2 separate regions of the Homo sapiens genome follow, and region 1 is linked to region 2. The links are contacts of gene promoters, found by promoter capture Hi-C in human tissues and cell types (Jung and others, 2019). All regions are on one chromosome and are shown on one strand. Each heading gives the region's core, a stretch centred on a gene start or on the middle of the fragment in contact. The rest is flanking DNA. Distances are from core to core; before and after follow the strand shown. Region 1 overlaps LINC02210-CRHR1 (LINC02210-CRHR1 readthrough). Region 2 holds the start of SPPL2C (signal peptide peptidase like 2C).

Region 1 (6,714 bases), core at 835-3,334, 78 kb before region 2:
TGGCCATTTCTGTTCCTACATTAACACCACATTTATGTTACTGGCAGCTGCAGGTTTGCTTTAAGGGCTAATAGGCCCTAACTAGGGTCCTGCCCTGAGCCTAGTTGCATAGAGGATTGTGCTTTCTCTTATTCTTCTGTGTCTCTGACTGCTAGTGCCCTAGTGAGGACAGTAGCCCTCAGTTCAATAAGCGGACTGCTAGTGCCCTAGTGAGGGCAGTAGCCCTCAGTTAAATAAGCTGACTGCTAGTTCCCTAGTGAGGACAGTAGCCCTCAGTTAAATAAGGTAGGTGGAGGGATAGCATCTTGAAGATGAGAGGAGGCCACAGAGAACCTAGTCAGCAAGGAGGCCAGGGCTGACCCCTAAAGGACCCACTTCTCCCAAGTCTTCCTCATGGGCCTTGGGGAGGGGGAGCCTGGAGCTCTGAACCAACCTGGTGGGGACAGGGTGGGGAAAGCAGATGTAGGGAGCTGGAAGAGGGTCCTGGGGCCCCGAGGGCCAACACCACCCCTAGACCTGCTTCTGCCCACCTGCAGAGCCTTCGCCCCAGCCTGGGTTGGTTCCTAGCATCTATGTCTGTGCCCCCAGTGAGTGTGGCCTTGTCTCTACATGGAGTTCACATGCAGGGTGTGGCTTCTGGGGGACAAGGGCGGAATCTTATGTTCGATCGGTTAAACAATTCTGGAGGGGGCATGTTTTGTGTGATGCCTGGAGGGTGGGTGGTGACGGGCACAAAGGTTGTGCCACAGGTAGTTTCCTTTTAGGGCGTTTAGGGTCTTGTGACCCTAGATGTGCCTCTCTACCTTCCCCAGGGCTTAGCAGCTAGGAGGGACCCTGCAGGGGCAGAGTGATCGGTGCCAGCCTGGGGCGGGGCTGTGGGGTGGGCAGCCCCCTTCACAGGCTGTCCATGCACTGGGGTGAGATGGGGCCCAGGGAGGGGTGTGGGGGGAAGGATGATCAGATTTTCCCAATGTGAAGGTGTGGGGCAACAGGGATCCCTATGTTTCTAGAGGAGGGGATGGCAGATGTCACCAGTGCCCTACCCTCGTGCCCTCCACTGGGATGACTCTGAGCTGGGGGTCCCACATGCCTCCCTGAGCTCCTCAATGGGATTAAGGTCCAGTCATCAGGCTTTCCTCCCTCCCCTGCCCGCCTTCCCCACCTCCCTACTGGGACCTCCTGGGATTACCTCCCAAATAAACAACCTGCCCTTGAATCTTTTTCACAGGTCCTGCTTCTGGGGAAACTCAAGACAGTATAAATTGGTGCAATCTATTTGGAGAAAGATTCAGCAATAAGTATCAAAATTATAAATGTACGTGTTCACGGGCCAGCAGCTCCACTTCTGGGAATTTATGCCATAAATATAACCTTTCATATGCCATATGATCTATGAATGAGGTTATTTATGGCAGCACTACTTTTAAGAGCCAAAGATTGAAAACACCTAAATGCCCATCGCTGGGGATGAGTTCGGCAGATCAGGGTTCATTCAACTGGCAGAATATTATGCAATCATTAAAAAGGAATGGAGGGGGCTACTCTTTATGGACTGATTTGGAACAATCTCCAAGATAAATTGCTAAGTGGGAAAAAAAGCAAGGTATAGAAGAGCACGTTTGTATAAAACAAAAAGAATATATAGCCGTAATTGCTTACTTATTGGATCGACGATCTCTGCAAATCTACCAAGAAACTGATAACCTTGGAGCCTGTGGAGAGAGGAATTAGGTGGCTGGGAGTGGGGAAGGGAGGGAGATTTTCAGGATATTTCCTATGCACCTTTTGATTTTTGCATCATGTGCAAGTTTGCATTATCTATTTAAAATGTAGTCTATGCAACTAAAAAAAATTATGAAGAATAATCATATACCTGGGTGCCTGCTATAATGATCAGTCCAATTTTAGCTTGTCTCGGGAAAGTTGAACCCATGGCTGGCAGCTTTCAACCTTCTCTTTCTCATTTACCACTCCCATAAGGTGGTTCTGCATCATTACTCCAGGGTTTCTAAATAATTAAAGTAGGCCTGAGTCCAGCCTTCCCCCAAGATGCTGAGAGTCCAAGCCGTCCTTCCCCTATCCCCTACCTGAGACATCAGAAGCTTCTTAAATAGTCCTGACTATTTAAGGGAAGAAGGACAGTTGCAGCCCTTCCTTTCTCGAGTGATTTGAAATGCAGACCACGGTTTTTGGAGAGGAGGAGATGAGGCAGGAGGCTGGAAGAAATGACCTTTTCACATCAGCTCTTCCTGGGTGGGTACCTATATTCCAGGGGCCTGGCGCAGTACCTGGCGCGTTTGTTGGCTGGCTGGCTGAATGTCTTTTTGTCCCAGAATTCCAGGCATGCAGGAACAAGGGGAAAGATGACCCCTCCTTCCAGTTCCTGGGGTCCTAGTCAATAATGGTTGGTGAGCAGAGCTCTGAAGTTGGACACTTTCGGGTAAAAATCCCAGCTGTAGCCTCCTTACTGCTATGAGACCTTAGGTGAATATCTACCCGAGCCTCAGTTTCCTCATCTACGCAATGGAGACAGAGGCCCCCTTTGCAAAGGATTAAATAAGGTTGCATCGGGGTGCTGCACAGTGTGCCCAGCACATAGTAGGCTTTGCTAGGTGTCTGCATATCTCTCCCCCTCCCTTGGCAGAAGGATGACCACTGCCACTGCTGAGACCAGACACTGTCCCCTCCTTGCCACCCTTGACTTGAGGGTGGAAGGAGGACCACCCTCAAGTCAAGGAGGTCCTCCTTCCATCTAACTGAAAACTCTCCGCTGTTACCCAGGCCGGTGCCCTCCTATGCTACTGTCATGCACAAGAGAAAAAGCTCTCAGCTTGTTCCCACTGAGCCTCTTCCAGATCTGAAGCCCCAAGGAAAGTCAAGGTTGAGTCCTGTGGGCCCAACAATGGGCAGCCCCAGGCCCTCTCTCTTTGCTTCCAATCCAGTCTCATCACTTTTCTCCTCTCTGCCCCCTCCTGGGCAGAGCGACTCTTGGTGCAAGGTCAGCTGTGAGCTGTCCAGGGTCCCTGGGCACACTCCTGCTCCTTCTCTGCCCCATTTCCTTCCCCTGCACCCAGGGAGTTGGGAAATAGCTCAGATTCCGATGACAAGGAGACTGGGCCCTAGGCAGAGCAGTGGCTGACAAGTTGCATGTTACAATAAATCCCCACAATTAGACCCTGCAAACAACACCGCTGCTGTCGCATCCCTAATATACAGCAGGGAGTCGGCTCAGTGTTCCTGGCAACCAATTCTTGAACTAAAAATAGTTGGCTGTGGCTTCACCTTTCCCTCCTCAGCATCCAGTCTCCATAGGTGCCAGGGAGGGAATGACCCTGGTGTCCAGGTCCTGCCCTGGTGCTGGAGGGCAGAGCATCAAGGGTTAACCCAGCCTTCACTAATGTGACTGTCAAGGAATTGCCCGCAGGGTAGGGAGTGGGGGTCTTCTGTGGGGGACGGGAGCCGGCCTGAGCTGTTTTAAAGCAAGTAAGGCTTTTTGAGTAGGCAGCCACCTCCTGAGGCCTCCCAATACCACCTCTTCAGCACCCTCTCGCATCCCCACCCGTCCAGCAGCAGCACAAAGGGGCCCGAAGGTGCAGCATTAGGGAATCTAATGGCCTGAGGAATAAGTTCTCGCCCACTGTGACTCCTTGGGCCAGTCACATCTCTGGATTTCGGCTGCCTCATCTGCAAACGAAGGATTCAATAAGTTGATCTGTTTCTGTCTAGATCCTCAGGCATGGTGAGCCTCACAATGGCAAGTACTCTGTCCCAAGTATGCTCACATGCGTCAAAGTCTCTGAAATGCTGACACGTGGGTGTGCAACCCCCCTCGCAGAGCAGTGGTCAGCACGTACAGAGAAGCAGCCCAGCCCTATGTCAGACCCTCTGCCTTAGAACCACTTGCCAATAATAAATCACCCACCACCCCTATGAAACAGGTGGTTCATGAAGTCTTGTCAATCAGTCATACCTTAGTCTAGAAGTCCTTTCCTGGGAGACAGGGGGAAGCATGGAGTCTGGGGTTCCTCCTGGGGCTGTTGGGATATCAAAAGCCTTACCTGGCTTCCCACCATCCCTGTGGAAATCCCCCAAGTGGAAGCCATGGGCCGCCACAAGACGTGGCCCCAGCCCAGCTTTCCAATCTCAGAACGTCATCCCCTGTCCTGGGGTCCTAGGACTCCTCGCTGTTCCCCAAACAGACGGAGCACAGTCCCACCTCCCGGCCTTTGCTCACAATGGTGCCTCCACCTGGAATGCTGTTGCCCCTTCTCCCCTCTGTCTCTCTCCCCTCTGTCCCCTACATTTCTATGTTGGTAGAAATCCTGCTCATCTTTTAAAGTACAAATGGACCGGGTGCAGTGGCTCACACCTGTAATCTCAGCACTCTGGGAGGCCGAGGCAGGCGGATCGCAAGGTCAGGAGATTGAGACCATCCTGGCTAACACGGTGAAACCCCATTTCTACTAAAAATACAAAAAATTAGCCAGGTGTGGTGGCGGGTGCCTGTAGTCCCAGCTACTCCGGAGGCTGAGGCAGGAGAATGGCGTGAACCCGGTAGGTGGAGCTTGCAGTGAGCCGAGATGGCGCCACTGCCCTCCAGCCTGGGCGACAGAGCGAGACTCCGTCTCAAAAAAAAAAAAAAGAAAAAAGAAAAAAAAGAAAGTACAAGTGCCACCAACTCTTTGATGAAGTTTTCCCTATCCCGTGGCTAGAATGAGCCCCTCAGTGTCCCTCTTCTAACAGCATTTGAAACGATGTAGTTTTGGAACCAGAAGAATCTTAGGGACCATGTACAACAGCGTTTCCCAAGATATTTTGACTGTGACTCATCGTAAGAAATCCACTCTGTTGTGACCCAGCACACACACACACACACACAGAGACACACAAGTGCATAAAACACATGTGCATATACATATAGTCCACACTCAACCATAGACACAAATAGACACACGTACACATACATGCAGGTACCTGTGGAAACATGTACAAGAGATGTGCAGCCAAAAGAAGTTTTTTTGTTTCTTTTTGTTTGTTTGTTTGTTTGTTTGTTTGTTTGTTTTTGAGACAGGGCCTCACTCTGTCACCCAGGCTGGAGTGCAGTGGCACAATCTCAACTCACTGCAGCCTCAATCTCCTGAGCTCAAGCGATCCTCCTGCTTGAGCTCTCAAGTAGCTCGGACTACAGGCATGCACCATCATGACTGGCTAATTTTTATATTTTTGCAGAGATGGGATTTCACAACATTACCCAGGCTGGTCTTGAACTCCTGAGCTCAAGCGATCTGCCCACCTCGACCTTCCAAACTGCTCTGGGGTTGCAGGTGTGAGCCACCGTGTCAGCCCAATAAGTTTCTTTGTGTAATACTTACCTCTATTGTGTGCCGTGTTCTGATGCAGTTGCTTAAAGTTTTTTTCTTTCTTCGAATGTTGGTTCTGACACTAAATTTATCTCCCCATCCTGTAATGGGTTGCAAACTGCAGTTTGGAAAATACTGAACAAGTTCGACCCCTTATTTGCAGATAGAAGTACCAAGGTCCAGAGGGAGGAAGGGACTGGATCAAGGTCATGCAGCCAGTTGGTGGCCAGACTCGGACCACAGTCCAGTGTCCTTGATTCACAGCAGCGACCTTTCCTCTGTCACAGAGCCGCTGATGCTATAGCTATTCCTGCAAGGTTGCAGCTCCACAAGTGAAAGGACCTTGTCCCCAGCACCCCCCACCCTGCCCCAAGGGCCTTGTCTATAGTAGGTGCCCAATAAACGGCTCCATTGGACTGACTGCACAATGATGCAAAAGTGGTTTGGAAGTCAATGAGGTCTCTGCTGGAGTGAGGGGTTAATACATTCAGCTGCTGCGGCCTGGAGACAAGGTCAGCTTTAGCTCATTAGTGGGGCTGGGCTTTCCCAGGGCTTAGGGATTCTGCAATTCACAGTGGAGCAGAAATCCTGCGGCTGAGCTGAGGGGGAGGGGCAGAGACAGGGAGGAAGGGAGGCTGGAAGAGAGGTGGAGATCGATCAGCAGGGAGGGGACGTTTTGGGGAAGGAAGGTGGTCAGGGTGGCTGTGATGGTGACAGCGGGTGGCAGGATATGACGGGATATGAGGGGGTCTGCAGCTCATTGAAAATCTGAACAAGCTCCAAAGAGGATGGAACTCAGTCTCCCCCCAGCTCCTCCTGTCTTCCTCTGAGAAGTGGCAGGGGAGGTTGGCGAGGCAATGTGCTGATGAGCACAGAGAAATGAGGGGCGGCGGAGATGCAGAAATGAGTAATTTCCACACAGCTCTGCTTAATATCAGAGTCTGCGCTGCTCAGAGATGGCCAAGGAGCCACTTGAGGCCTCTACAGCCCCCTCCTTCCTGCGACACTCCCCCCTTCCACCCATCAGAGCTCAGGACACTCATCTGTTAATGAGACGGGCAGCTGGTTCCCCACACCCATCCTCGGATGGAGCTGGCAGGCACGGACTCCTCAGGGGCTGGGGGTGCTAAGCCATCCCCTGTGGCCGCCCCTCTGCTTCCCAATGAGGGGTGTGATTGGCACAGATCACAGAGAAAGGAGACAAGCAGGGTAGCCTGGCAGGAGCAGAGTCCTGGCCATTGGTTTACTCATTCATTTGGTGAGTATCCATTAAGCTCCTGCTGTGTGCCGGGCCCAGTGTGAGGTGTGCAGGAGTGTAGCTGTGAACAAGACTGTTGAGAATGTAGCAGAGAAA
Region 2 (6,122 bases), core at 1,016-3,515:
TGGATCACCTGAGGCCAGGAGTTTGAGACCAGCCTGGCTAACATGGTGAAACCCCATGTCTACTAAAAATACAAAAATTAGCCAGGTATGGTGGTGGGCGCCTATAATCTCAGCTACTTGGGAGGCTGAGGCAGGAGAATCGCTTGAACTTGGGAGGTGGAGGTTGCAGTGAGCCAAGATTGTGCCACTGCACTCCAGCCTGCCTAGGGGACAGAGTGAGACTCCATCTCAAAGAGAAAAGAAGGAGAGTCCTTGAGAAAGATCAGTGATTGGCCAGGCACAGTGGCTTGTGCCTGTAATCTCAGCACCTCGGGAGGCTGAGGTGGGCGATTCACTTAAGGCCAGGAGTTCGAGACCAGCCTGGGCAAAATGGTGAGACACCATCTGTACTAAAATCACAAAAATTAGCTGGGCATGGTGGCACACACCTGTAATCCCAGCTACTCGGGAGGCTGGGTCGGGGGAGAATTGCTTGAAACCAGGAGGTGGAGTTTGCAGTGAGCTGAGATCGTGCCACTGCACTCCAGCCGAGCAACAGAGCAAGACCCTGTCTCAAAAAAAAAAAAAAAAAAAAATCAGCATGCTTACTCCTTAGAGGTTAAAATTACATGTGTGTTGTGGGGCTGCCCACAATTGTGCCCCCAAATAGGCATGTTGAAGTCCTAAACCCCAGTACCTGTTAATGCGACCTTATTTGGAAGTAGGGTGTTTGCAGACATAATCAAGTTAAGATGGTGTCATTAGGGTGGGCCCTAATCCATTATAACTATGTCTTTATAAAGAAGAGAAGAGACACAGAGACACACAGGGAGAATGCCATGTGACAACCTATGCAGAGACTGGAGTGACAGGCCAGGCCAGTGGGGAGAACATGAGGACAATGGAACCTGGACTGCCAAGCTCCAGCCCCCAAATCCCTCCCTTCTGGTTCCGGAGGCCCCAGGGTTACTCTCCCGCACACTAACTGCTTTGAAAACCTCATTCCTCAAATCTACTCCATCATGGGTGGCCTGAAGAAGCCTGGACAGGAGGTCCTGGGTGACCTGTGAGGGCATACACCACAGAGCTGGGTGCAAACCTGCAGAGCCAAAACCTGGGGCTCCTGGCTTCAAATCCACCTCTCACCAGTATTTGAGTTCTCTTTCCAGCGGAAAGTCTGCCCGGCCTCAGAGTTGCAGCCAGGAGAGTGGCTCAGAATCCAGCATGAAAACATTTGGAAGACATCAAGGTCCATTTAACCAGCACAAGAGCCCCAGCCTTCTTTGCTGTGTCAATGTGGGCTTCTCCAAGCCTCAGTTTTACTTATCCATGAAGTGGGTGTATTAAGGTAACGTTAAGTGGCTATAACAAAGAGACTCATGACAAATCAATGCCTTAAGGAAGATCATGTCTCTCTCTTGTAACAGTCCATAGTGCACATCCTGGGCTACTGTTCCACATGGAATCCAGGGACCTGGTTCCCTTCACTTTCTTCCTCTCCATTCCTTAGGACATTGTCCTCCTCGTCATAGACAGACACATCACAGGCCCGTCCTTGTTCTGACTCCTGAGAAAGGGAAAGAGAGGGTAAACCAGGAGCCCCACGGTCTGTCAGCCTAAGCCCCTGATGTAAAGAGTTCACATCATTTTTGCTTAATTTCTCCTGGTCACCTGTCCGTTCCCAACTGTAAATGGAGTTGGAGGTGAATTCTGGTCATGTGCCTGGTAGAAATGGGGACCAACTTTGAGGGACAGCCTCAGGCTGTGCAGATATAATGACACCTCCTTGCAACTGTGCAATAGGTACAGCTAGGGTACCTGGCGCCTAGTAAGCCCTCGGTAAAAGTGCTCAATGTTACTGAGCTCAGAGCTCCAAGGGACCTTAGAAACTCTCTGGCCCAACGTCCTCATTTCTTTACAGCTAAAGAAACAGGCCTAGAGAGGAGTGACATTGGCCTGTGTTCCCCATGGGTAAGGAGAAAAGTTGGTTCAGAATCCTATCTGGCCTGCAAACCCCATGCTCACACCTTTTATTTCAAAGTACCTGGTCTAAACCCACTAGGGTCTGGGCAGAGAGCAGGGTCCATATGACCTCTCCCCTGGTCTCCCAGGGTTGGGGGGCATCATTCTAGAGGGACCCTGTGCCCCACAGCAGCGCCCTCGGCTGGGGACCACACAGCTTTATGACTAGGTAGGTGTGGCCCTGGTTTCCAGGACAGGTGGCCAGACTGCTCTGTGACAAAGGGCCACGCCTGCCCCTGGGAGGGGTATTGGGCTGCCGCCCGCAGATGTTGCAGTAGGAACTGAAGAAGATGGCGTGCCTGGGCTTCCTCCTCCCCGTGGGCTTCCTCCTCCTCATCAGCACCGTGGCCGGGGGAAAGTACGGCGTGGCCCACGTGGTGTCGGAGAATTGGAGCAAGGACTACTGTATCCTGTTCAGCTCCGACTACATCACCCTCCCCCGGGACCTGCACCACGCCCCACTCCTGCCCCTGTATGATGGCACCAAGGCACCCTGGTGCCCGGGTGAGGATTCCCCCCACCAGGCCCAGCTCCGCTCCCCCAGCCAGCGGCCCCTCCGCCAGACCACTGCCATGGTCATGAGGGGTAACTGCAGCTTCCACACGAAAGGCTGGCTGGCTCAGGGCCAAGGTGCCCACGGGCTGCTCATCGTGAGCCGGGTCAGTGACCAACAGTGCTCAGACACCACCCTGGCACCCCAGGATCCCCGCCAGCCCCTGGCAGACCTCACCATCCCTGTGGCTATGCTCCACTATGCTGACATGCTGGACATCCTCAGCCACACTCGTGGGGAGGCCGTCGTCCGCGTGGCCATGTACGCACCCCCAGAGCCCATCATCGACTACAACATGCTGGTCATCTTCATCCTGGCTGTGGGCACAGTGGCTGCAGGCGGCTACTGGGCCGGCCTGACCGAAGCCAACCGGCTACAGCGGCGCCGTGCCCGAAGAGGAGGGGGGTCTGGTGGTCACCATCAGCTGCAGGAAGCTGCAGCAGCTGAGGGAGCCCAGAAGGAAGATAATGAGGACATCCCAGTGGACTTCACGCCGGCCATGACAGGCGTGGTGGTCACCCTGTCCTGCTCGCTCATGCTGCTGCTCTACTTCTTCTATGACCACTTTGTCTATGTCACCATTGGGATCTTTGGCCTGGGTGCTGGCATTGGCCTCTACAGCTGCCTGTCACCCCTGGTGTGCCGCCTGTCCCTGCGGCAATACCAGAGGCCTCCGCACAGCCTCTGGGCCTCTCTGCCGCTGCCTCTGCTGCTGCTGGCGAGCCTGTGCGCAACCGTGATCATCTTCTGGGTGGCCTACCGCAATGAGGACCGCTGGGCGTGGCTCCTGCAGGACACACTGGGCATTTCCTACTGCCTGTTCGTCCTGCACCGTGTGCGGCTGCCCACTCTCAAGAACTGCTCCTCCTTCCTGCTGGCCCTGCTGGCCTTTGATGTCTTCTTTGTCTTCGTCACCCCCTTCTTCACCAAAACCGGTGAGAGCATCATGGCGCAGGTTGCCTTGGGCCCTGCAGAGTCTTCAAGCCATGAGAGGCTGCCCATGGTACTCAAAGTGCCCCGGCTAAGAGTCTCCGCCTTGACCCTGTGCAGCCAGCCCTTCTCCATCCTTGGCTTCGGTGACATTGTGGTCCCCGGCTTCCTGGTTGCTTACTGTTGCCGCTTTGATGTGCAAGTCTGCTCCCGTCAGATCTACTTCGTGGCCTGCACCGTGGCCTATGCTGTGGGCCTGCTGGTCACATTCATGGCCATGGTCCTCATGCAGATGGGCCAACCTGCCTTGCTCTACCTAGTGTCCAGCACCCTGCTCACCAGCCTGGCTGTGGCTGCCTGCCGCCAAGAGCTCAGCCTCTTCTGGACTGGCCAGGGCAGAGCTAAGATGTGTGGGCTCGGCTGTGCCCCTTCAGCTGGCTCTAGGCAGAAGCAGGAGGGCGCAGCAGATGCCCACACAGCCAGCACACTTGAGAGAGGCACCAGCCGAGGAGCAGGGGACTTAGACAGCAACCCTGGAGAAGACACCACTGAGATTGTCACCATATCTGAGAATGAAGCCACCAATCCAGAGGACCGCAGTGATAGCTCCGAGGGCTGGAGTGACGCCCACTTGGATCCTAATGAGCTGCCCTTCATCCCCCCTGGGGCCTCGGAGGAGCTGATGCCACTGATGCCAATGGCCATGCTGATCCCACTCATGCCCCTGATGCCCCCGCCCTCAGAGCTGGGCCATGTCCATGCCCAGGCCCAGGCCCACGAGACTGGCCTGCCCTGGGCGGGACTCCACAAGAGGAAGGGTTTGAAAGTAAGAAAGAGCATGTCGACCCAGGCTCCCTTGTGAACTGGAGGCACTGGGACACACGCCTCTCAAAGGGCTGGTGGAACATTGCAGAGCAAAGCCATGCATGGCAACAAGAAATCAGGGTATCAAAGAGATTTCATATCTACCCAAGGAGTCTCTCTGTTTGTCGGGAGTGCAAGAGAGCAGCAACCACATAATAAGAGTGTGCAGGGCTCGAAGGGTCCTTAGGAGTGGGCACCACCCCCAAATAATGAAGGGGGGAAACTGAGGCTCCAAGAGGGCCTATGACTTGCACAAGTTCAAGCGGCAAGGTCGGGATTTGCATCCAGGGCTCACTGGGCAGCTACTCCCCTCTGCCTGCTTGCCCAACCCCTTCCCAATCCAGAGTGGCAGCTTCTTAGCCTGGCACACAGCCCCCATCCCATCCCTGCCACCCACCCTAGGCTCATTGCCCATCTTCTCTCCATGCTCAGGTCAAACAGAACTCCTTGTCCTCCCCACCCGCTCTCTCTGCATATGCTGTTCCCTCCAGCTGGGATGCCCTTCCCTCTCCAGACAGAAACACTCCAGCCTGGCTCCCTGACTCACTAGAAGATTCCGAAGCATCCTTTACTCCTCAGCTCACATCCATTCTGCAAAACGTCTCTGTTCAAGAATCCCAGGCAGCAGCACCAAGCCCAGCAAGTTCCTGTATGCACCACCCATTCCATCTTCAGGCATTGAGTATGCCCCTACTATGTGCATCGCCATGTGGTGGGCACAGGGAAGGCCTCTGTCTAGCTGGGGGAGGGGGAGGGGTGGGCAGACAAGAAACAAACTTAGAATTGTCTCAAAGAGGTCGGGAGGGGTTGGAGAGGTTGGGCCCAGGGTGGAAGAATTCCGGAGACCAAGGCCTCCCTCACTGACTCTAAGTAATGTTCAAGCCTCGTTGGGTCTCTGTAGTCTCATCTGCAAAATGAGACTTATAATACCATTTCCATCTGGAGGCAGGGGCATGGACGAGATGACCTCCTAAGGACTCTACAGGCTTTTAGGCCATGTAGGGTGCTGATGTGTTGCTTAATCAGAGCAGACAAACTCTGGGGTGAGAAGGCTTCCTGGAGGAGGTGTTTTTGGAGGGGAGGAAAGTGTATCCCAAGAGGCGGTGTGGTTCAGTGGTTAGGGTTCTACAGCCAGGCTGCCTACCACAAATCCCAGCCCTACCACTGACTTGGAGTATCTCACTGAGCAAATGACTTATCCATTCAGTGCCTCTGTTTTCTTGTGTGTGAAATGGGATAATAGGACCTACCATCTGGTTCTTAGGAAGTTTGAACGAGTTGGCCTATGTCAGGTGATTGGCACAATGCCCTGCCTGTCCGAAGAGCCCCCTGCACGTGAGCTATGTTTATATTGCTCCCCTAGTGAAAGCCTCACAGACTCAAACCCAGCTCCTACAAGACCTTGAGGTCCCAGCCCAACGGCCCTCTTCCACCCCTCCAAACCCCTACCGCCACAAGCACACGCCAGACCCACCACACCCCCCATGCTTTTTCCTCTTCTTGGAACTCTCTTTCTGCCCCTTCCTTACCACGCCCCGTGAACTTGGCCTGGCTGGCTGCTCCTCTTCGCAGCCTTTCCTAAAGCATCCCTGTCTCAATCACACGACCAGGCACCTTTAGTTTTCCGATCTTCCCCGGTAGAGGGCCAGCTTTGGAAGGGCAGGGGCCTTGCCCATCTTGTTCATCTGTGTAATTTCAGGGCTCAGAACAGCCCCTGGAGTGTTACAGGTGCTTGATGTATTTGCTGGAGGAATGAACGGATGGATGAATGAAT

The links. Contacts are between HindIII fragments. The study calls those that stand out against the background at their distance.
Region 1: a contact is called between a fragment that was not itself captured here and the fragment with the promoter of SPPL2C in region 2, in 3 of the 25 tissues and cell types used here (lymphoblastoid cells, psoas muscle and spleen).

The regions. Positions count from the first base shown.
Region 1 is chr17:45,765,177-45,771,890 of GRCh38, forward strand. All of the region lies in intron 3 of LINC02210-CRHR1 (LINC02210-CRHR1 readthrough), which reads left to right. Among named protein-coding and RNA genes, the nearest start is that of CRHR1, 16 kb to the right of the region's middle. RefSeq lists an enhancer at 6,423-6,714. The HindIII fragment of the contact is 6,380 bases long and covers 1-5,274 here.
Region 2 is chr17:45,842,616-45,848,737 of GRCh38, forward strand. It overlaps SPPL2C (signal peptide peptidase like 2C), which reads left to right and starts at 2,266. Exons shown (of 1, transcript NM_175882.3): 1 at 2,266-4,452. The coding sequence starts at 2,292. The coding sequence ends at 4,346. It overlaps MAPT-AS1 (MAPT antisense RNA 1), which reads right to left. Exons shown (of 2, transcript NR_024559.1): 2 at 741-1,546. RefSeq lists enhancers at 2,188-3,172, 3,173-4,156. The HindIII fragment of the contact is 11,226 bases long and covers 1-6,122 here.